Linked DNA regions of Homo sapiens: region 1 is linked to region 2. Evidence: promoter capture Hi-C in 16 types of primary human blood cells and fetal thymus (Javierre and others, 2016). All regions are on one chromosome and are shown on one strand. The core of a region is centred on a gene start or on the middle of the fragment in contact, and the rest is flanking DNA. Distances in the headings are between cores, read along the strand shown. Region 1 has its middle 6.4 kb from the start of SCD. Region 2 holds the start of CWF19L1 (CWF19 like cell cycle control factor 1).

Region 1 (3,693 bases), core at 624-3,123, 73 kb after region 2:
AAAACAGGGAGCTGAGTGAGGCTGACAGCGCTGTCAGAGAGTGAGGAAAGTCCTGCCTGAGTGAAGGAGATAGGGTAGGAAGATTGGGAGGGCAGCTGTGGCATAGTCAAAGAGAGGTTCAGTGAAACCTTCTGGGAGCCACAACAGGCCATCGGGAGTTCTGTGTCCCCCAAGAATGGGCTTGCCTTCACATCCCTGCCACACTTAGCTACTGGTGAGGCTGCTCTAGGTGGGAGCAGGCCTGGGGCAGTATGACCCAGGTGAACATCTTGGTCAGCCGCCCTACCTGTAGTCTGCGGTCTCTGAGGCCCATTCGCACTGCCTCCATGCCTTCCTTTGGAGAAATGACAGCCTCAGCCCTCCGGGGTTTCTATCAAGTGCCACATCTGCTCTCCACCTCTCAGGGAGACAACTGAACCTTCATCTCTCACCTCATGTGCTGATTTCACTTCCCAATTTCATTTCCTTCTCCCCATGACCCCACCCTCCATCATGGCTCCTCCCATGCCCTGGATGAGACTCTGTGCCTGCTCCTGGAAGCGTTCAGGCACACTCACCCTCCCAAGCAAGCCCTACATTTCCATTCCTCTGCCTTTGGCTGCTTCTTGCTTAGAAGCCCTAAAACATGAAGGAGGTAATGGTATTACCTGAATGGTGGCTTCAGCCCGGATCCCAGGTGTCAGCCTGCCCTGGCTGGAAGCTAGCTGGCCAGCACCAGGCCCCATCCCTTTCCTGGGGTCCCTGTTTCTCAAGTGACCATCTATCCTCTGGTGCCAGAGTTGGTGGTGAGGTCCCAGACTCAGCTGAGCCTCATAGACCTCCCTGAACTATGCGATAGGCAGCCATAGCTTTGCCAGGTGGCTCAGAGAGCCAAGCAGCTCTTGGGGATCAGAAAAAAGACATTGACACTTGGCTGGGGAAAGCAGAGGTTTGGTAAAGTGAATGTTAGAGGGAAAGAATGATGGGTTCTTGGCGTGTTCTTGGGAACAACAGGGTCCACAGCCCCCTTTGGGGTTCTCAGTGCTGTTGAGGCTGCAGGAACTGAGGTAGGGCTGAGGGGCCTGCAGTGCCTGGGGCTCCAGGCTTCGCTCCTCCATCTCCCTGGCTGGTCCTCAACTGCAGGCTTAGGAAGGATGGGATAAAGGTAGTTGGCTTTCTGGGCTGCTGCCTGAAAGGAGGACATGGGGACACCAAATATTCTGCAAGAACGTATCTGGGCCAGATGACATTGCAAATCCAGAGTCCCTTAGGACATGAGAAGGGAATAACTCTGGCCTTTAAAAGGGAATCCAGCCAACCCCGGGTGTGGGAGGAGCAGAATAACAGCATGGAAATTCACCTTGATTACATTAATTTACACCTTAGATGCTGAAGGTAAAGCTGAGGGCTAGCATGGGATTTTCCCTTTCTCTCTTGGGTAGGGAGAGATGGGGAAGAAAGGTGGAGTTGGGGGCTGGAGTAGAAAGATCAAGCTTTTAGCCGACCTGGGGAGCCTTCCAGAATGTAACTTGCCCAGAGGCCAGGCCTCCTAGGTACTAGGGTTTATGCAGCAGGGAATGTGATCACGGGGGAAGTGGTGAGTGGTGGCAGGGCAGGGGAGAAGCAGCGCCCAGCAAGTGTCCTTCTGACTTTCTGCTCAGCATGTTTGTTCTGTGGCTGGAAAGAATGAGTTACTAGACAAAACATATGAAGTACCTAGTACGCACCTAGCAGATGTTAGGTACAGACAAATCCCCATCACATCCCCCACCTCAGTGCTCCCAGGCTGGTACAACTTTTCTGAGCCTTGCAAAATACAGGTAAATATGTGGGTAAATATTAGTAGATTATCAAAGCACCTAGCACAGTGCACATAAATAGATGCTTAAATAAATAAAAATAAATTTTAAAAAAACACTAAATGACTCTGTCACCAGCCCATTCTCTTCCCCTACCCGATTCTAGGGGCACCTCTTAGGAAGGGCGCCCCTCTCTCTTCCCTGAACTCCGACCCTGTTTAATATAGTATGTTTACACTCTGCCTTCATCAGATGCTAGCCTGCCCAGTTTGCTATTGTGCTTTGTCCTGTTTCTCTTAGAAATCTGTGAGCTCCCCAGGGGTGGGAGCAGAACTTTGGCTCCATTCTCCCCCACACAGCAGAGAATTGACTTTCCGCTGGGCACAGGGGAGGCTCAGTCAACACTCTATCCCCATGTGGCTACGTTGGCTTAGAGGCACAGAATGGGAGAGAAGCAGGCTCTTGGCTGAGGAAAAGCCCTGGGCGAGCACTGAGGGAAGCTTGGCCTCAGACATAGCCAGCTGCCCTCTGGACCTCGCAGCCCTGCTGTGCCCAGCTCAGCTGCTGTGTCAGTGCAAAGCCAGGGTGACATCAGCTGTGGGAGAGGTTACTGTCAGGCAAAGGGAAGGCCAGGAGAGAGATGGCTGGCTGGGGCACGAGGCTAGAAGGACTCAGGAAACAGTTCCCTTGTAGGGGAAGCAGCAGCTTGGGAGGGGCAGTTGGGAGGAGAGAAGCAAAAGGGGTGAAGGGCCAGGAATGGCCAGGGCCTGCCTGTTCCTTTCACCTACAGCAGGGAGAGAGGCATGGGTTCAGAACTCTGGAAGAGAGTGTGACCTTCCTGGGAGCACTCTTAGCAACTGCAGGAAGCAAATGGGGATTTACCTCTCTACGACCAGGAAGGCAACACAGGAGCCGGGCACGGTGGCTCATGCCTGTAATCCCAACACTTTGGGGGGCTGAGGCGGGTAGATCACGAGGTCAGGAGTTCGAGACTGGCCTGGCCAGTATGGTGAAACCCCATCTCTACTAAAAATACAAAAGTTAGCCAGGAGGGGTGGCATGCACCTGTAATCCCAGCTACTTGGGAGGCTGAGGCAGGAGAATTGCTTGATTCTGGGAGGCAGAAGTTGCAGTGAGCCAAGACTGTACCACTGCACTCCAACCTGACAACAGAGCAAGACTCCGTCTCAAAAAGAAAAAAAAGAAAGAAAGAAAGAAAAAACGCGGGGGCAAGCTGCTCTTCTCTCTTTACTTTGGCTCAGAAGCTGAGTCAGGGCAAGAGAGACTTTCCCTTCAGCTTGTTTATTTGTTGTTGGAGGCCCTAGGCCTGTGTTTGCTTTTCCTCTCCATGTGTTCATCCTAGATGGCTTGCTCAGAATGGGGTAGCCTTCCAGGCTGGGGAAAGATCCCCTATGGGCCTCCAGAGGAGGGAGGGAGTAGTCTGTGGCCTGGGAAAAGGCATCTTTGTAAGGTCAGACCACTGCAGAAATCTCTGGCCCTGGTCCTGGTCCTAAGACATTTGTCCCCAGGCCTCATCTGCTGGGACTGTCAGTACCCATCTCACACATTCTGCCCTGAGACATAAACTGCTTCCAGTCACACGCACTATCTGATCTGAGGACGTACCCCAGGGCCCCAGGGATAGGTAACAATAAGTTGGTGGAGGCCCGTCCGCCAGTATGCATACCTGTGTGTGCAGACATTCCCGTGTGTGAGCACACACAGAAAGGGCTGGAGTGAGAGGAAGATCATGGCTCTGTGGATAGTGTGGAGAGACAGATGTCTGCCAACAGAGGGAGGTGTGGGGCTAGTGCACTGGCCTCTTCTCTACCGGGGAAAGACGTGCTACACCATCTATCCAGCCTGGGGCCCAGGAGGAGCCATATTCAAGGGTCCTCGTTCATAGTATATCAGG
Region 2 (3,728 bases), core at 202-2,701:
CAATTTTTTTTTTTTTTTTTTTGAGACAGGGTTTCAATCTGTCACCCAGCCTGGAGATCAGCAGCACGATCACAGCTCACTGCAGCATCGACCTCCCCAGGCTCAGGTGGTCCACCTGCTTCAGCCTCCCAATTAGCTGGGACCACCACGCCCGGCTAATTTTTTTTTTTTTCTGTATTTTTTGTAGAAACGGGGCCTTGCTATATTGCCCAGGCTGGTCTTGAATTCCTGGACTCAAGTGATTCTCTTGCCTTGGCCTCCGGAGTCGCTGGGATTATAGGCGTGAGCCACTGCGCCTGGCCCTATCACTATGGTAACTTTACATTTATCTGAATTCCTTTTTTTTTAGACGGAGTCTCACTCTGTTACCTAGGCTGGAGTGCAGAGGTGCAGTGTCGGCTCACTGTGCAACCTCCGCCTCCGGGTTCAAGCGATTCTCCTGCCTCAGCCTCCCAAGTAGCTGGGATTACAGGCACGCGCCACCACGCCTGGCTAATTTTTTTTTTTTGTATTAGTAGAGACGGGGTGTCACCACGTTGGCCAGGCTGGTCTCGAACTCCTGACCGCAAGTGATCCGCCCGCCTCAGCCTCCCAAAGTGCTAGGATTACAGGCGTGAGCCACCGCGCCCGGCCATTATTTGTATTGTTTTTTGTTTGTTTTGTTTTGTTTTGTTTTGTTTTGAGAGTCTCGTTCTGTCGCCCAGGCTGGAGTGCAGTGGCGCGATCTCGGCTCACAGCAACCTCCGCCTCCCGGGTTCAAGCGATTCTCCTGCCTCAGCCACCGCGCCCGGCCCATTATCTGGATTCTTTAGTACCTGTTCCTCTAGACTCTACGCTCCATTAAAGCAGGAACTCCATCTGTTGCAACACCTAGCACAGCGTCCGGCACACTGCAGTTCTTCAATAAATACTTGCTGCATGAAGCCCTCTCTTCACCACCACCCCCACCCCTCCTCCTCGCAAAAAAAAAAAAAAAAAAAAAATGCCCCAGGGAAGGGTCCCTATCTACTCTGTCCACCACTGCCCAGGGCCCATCAGTGGGCCCAATGGCTATTTGGCGAGTAAATAAATGGGGTCAGGAGAAACGAAGGGGAAAGGATGTGTCAGAGGCCAGGACTGCCCCCTAAGATGGAGGAGGCCTAACTCTGGGAGCTTCCGCCTCTCCGAACGAGCGTCGCCAAGAGAAACCCCCTCAGAAGCGAAAAGGGCCAGGAAAAGAGGTCAGCCCCGGCCAGGCAAAGACATCACCTAAGCTCCCCAGCAGCCCCGTGTCTCTCCGCCTTTTCCTTCTCCCTTCCCGTCATGGGAAAGACTCCCGCCCGTGTCGTCACCTACACACACGAAAGAGACACAGGGAGAGAGGCTTCCATTCACGGTCACTCACAGGCGCAGCGGTTTCTGTGCCATCTGTCCGAATAGTATGGGTTGCGACTGCCACCTAAAATTGGGAATGCGAATCCGCGCTCCCCGGAAAAATGCGACCGCGCAACAATCAGACGTCAGCGCCCTCCAGCCAATAACGGTTCACTTACTTACGGAGACCGCCGAGGGACAGAAGCCTCTCTCAGGTGTTTGCGCCTCAAGGAAGAATCAAGAGGGAAAGGGAGGAACGAAGGGAGAAAGAGAAAGTGACCGAAAGGATTCCAACTATGATTTTTTAAATTAAATTTCAGAGCACTTGAAGCGAATGAATGGCTAGGAAGTACAGAGCACAATGTCGGGTTCTAACCTAACCTAACCTAACCTAACCTAACCTAACCATATCGGTCTAGTGGGCAAGACAGACCCCCTCTATCCACGTTTTTTGTAAGTTTTTAACCTATCAAAAAGTTAAGAGGCCGGGCGTGGACGCTCACGCCTATAATCCCAGCACTTTGGAAGGCTGAGGCGGGCGGATCACTTGAGGTCGGGCGTTCAAGACCAGCCTGGGCAACATGGTGAAACCCCGTCTCTTCTAAAAATACAAAAATTAGCCGGGCATGGTGGAGAATTGCTTCAACCAGGGAGGCGGGGGTTGCAGTGAGTCAAGATCGCGCCATTGCACTCCAGCCTGGACAACAAGAGCGAAACTCCGTCTCAAATTAAAAAAAAAAAAGTTAAAAGAATAATGGCTATTACCTTGATTCAGTAAGTCTCAGCATGTTGGCAAATTTGCTTGTGTTCTCTTTCTCTCAAAGTGCCCAAGCCCTTCCATTCTCACTCAATCATTTGAAAGTAAAGTACAGGCCGGGCGCAGTGGCTCACGCCTGTAATCCCAGCACTTTGGGAGATCCAGACCATCCTGGCTAACACGGTGAAACCCCCTCTCTACTAAAAATACAAAAAATTAGCCGGGCGTGGTGGCACGCACCTGCAGTCCCAGTTACTCGGGAGGCTGAGGCAGGGGAATCGCTTGAACCCAGGAGGAGGAAGTTGCAGTGAGCCGAGATCGCGCCACTTCACTCCAGCCTGGGCGACAGAGCGAGACTCCGTGTCAAAAAATAAAATAAAATAAAGTGCGGACAACAGGAATACATCTCCATTTATCTCCTAAGATTAGGATATCCTCCTACATAACCGTAATACTATTAACACAGCTAAGAAAATTAACATTAATTATTCAATAATATTACCTAATATACATCCATATTTAAAGTTCTCCATATTTCCCTACAAACTGATTTTATATTTGGGGCTTGTTTTGATTCAGATGCAATCAAGTTTCACACTTGCATTTGGTTCTGTCTCTATTTTAATCTACAAAAGCCCTCCTACCTATTTGGTTTTAGTTTTTGTAATATTGACTTTTTTGAAGGGTTCAGGCCAAGTGGTAGGAAACAAGTGTGTAAGGAAATGGAAACAAGAGAGAGTTCCTGACGACTGCGGGGAAAGGAAGACTCATCAAGGGCATCTAAATAATTCAAAATTAATAAAACATAAGATTAAAGAAGAACTACAGGCCAGGCACAGTGGCTCATGCCTGTAATCCCAGCACTTTGGGAGGCTGAGGCGGGAGGTTCACTTGAGAACAGGAGTTCAAGGCCAACCTGGGCAACATAGCCAGACCTCGTCTCTACTACAAATTTAAAAAGAAAAAAAAAAAAGTTAGCTGGGCATGGTGGCCGTATGCCTGTACTCCCAGGTACTCCAGAGGCTGAGGTGGGGAGATCACTTGAGCCCAGGAGATGGAGGCTTCAGCGAGCTATTACCTTGCCACTGCACTCCAGCCTGGGTGACACAGCAAGCCCTGTCTCAATAACCAAACAAAACTACAAAGTTCTGGCTTTTCCCACAGCCTACAAGCCTTCTTTTTTGTTTGTTTCTTGCCTCATAACTGGTGGCTCTGCTTTGCTGGCACATAAGCATGCATTTTTTCCTACTCTTTGGATAATACAGCACTGCCCAGGAGTAGCACTCAAGACTGAATCTTGAAGAAGAGTAGAAGTTTGCCAAACATGAGCAGGTAATAATTCCCAGAAGAGGATACAAAAGTAAGACATAAAAACTCATCGTATTGAAAAATCAAAAGACTCCACGAAAAAGACTGTTAGAAATAATAAACGAATTCAGTAAAAGTTTCAGGATACCAAATCAACATACAAAAATCAGTAGCATTTATATGCACCAACAGTAAACAATCTGAAAAAGAAATCAAAAAAGCAATCTCATTTACAACAGCTACAAAGAATATAAACTACGTAGGAATCAATTTAACTAAAGAAATGAAAGATCTATACAAGGAAAACTAT

What was found. Contacts are between HindIII fragments. The CHiCAGO score rates a contact against its expected background, and 5 or more counts as called.
Region 1: a contact is called between a fragment that was not itself captured here and the fragment with the promoter of CWF19L1 in region 2, in 2 of 17 cell types (M0 macrophages and M1 macrophages). The highest score is 6.0, in M0 macrophages.

Annotation. Positions count from the first base shown.
Region 1 is chr10:100,338,975-100,342,667 of GRCh38, forward strand. No RefSeq gene overlaps it. Among named protein-coding and RNA genes, the nearest start is that of SCD, 6.4 kb to the right of the region's middle. RefSeq lists enhancers at 442-511, 3,458-3,693. The HindIII fragment of the contact is 806 bases long and covers 1,471-2,276 here.
Region 2 is chr10:100,266,187-100,269,914 of GRCh38, forward strand. It overlaps CWF19L1 (CWF19 like cell cycle control factor 1), which reads right to left and starts at 1,452. Exons shown (of 14, transcript NM_018294.6): 1 at 1,385-1,452. The coding sequence starts at 1,407. The HindIII fragment of the contact is 22,053 bases long and covers 1-3,728 here.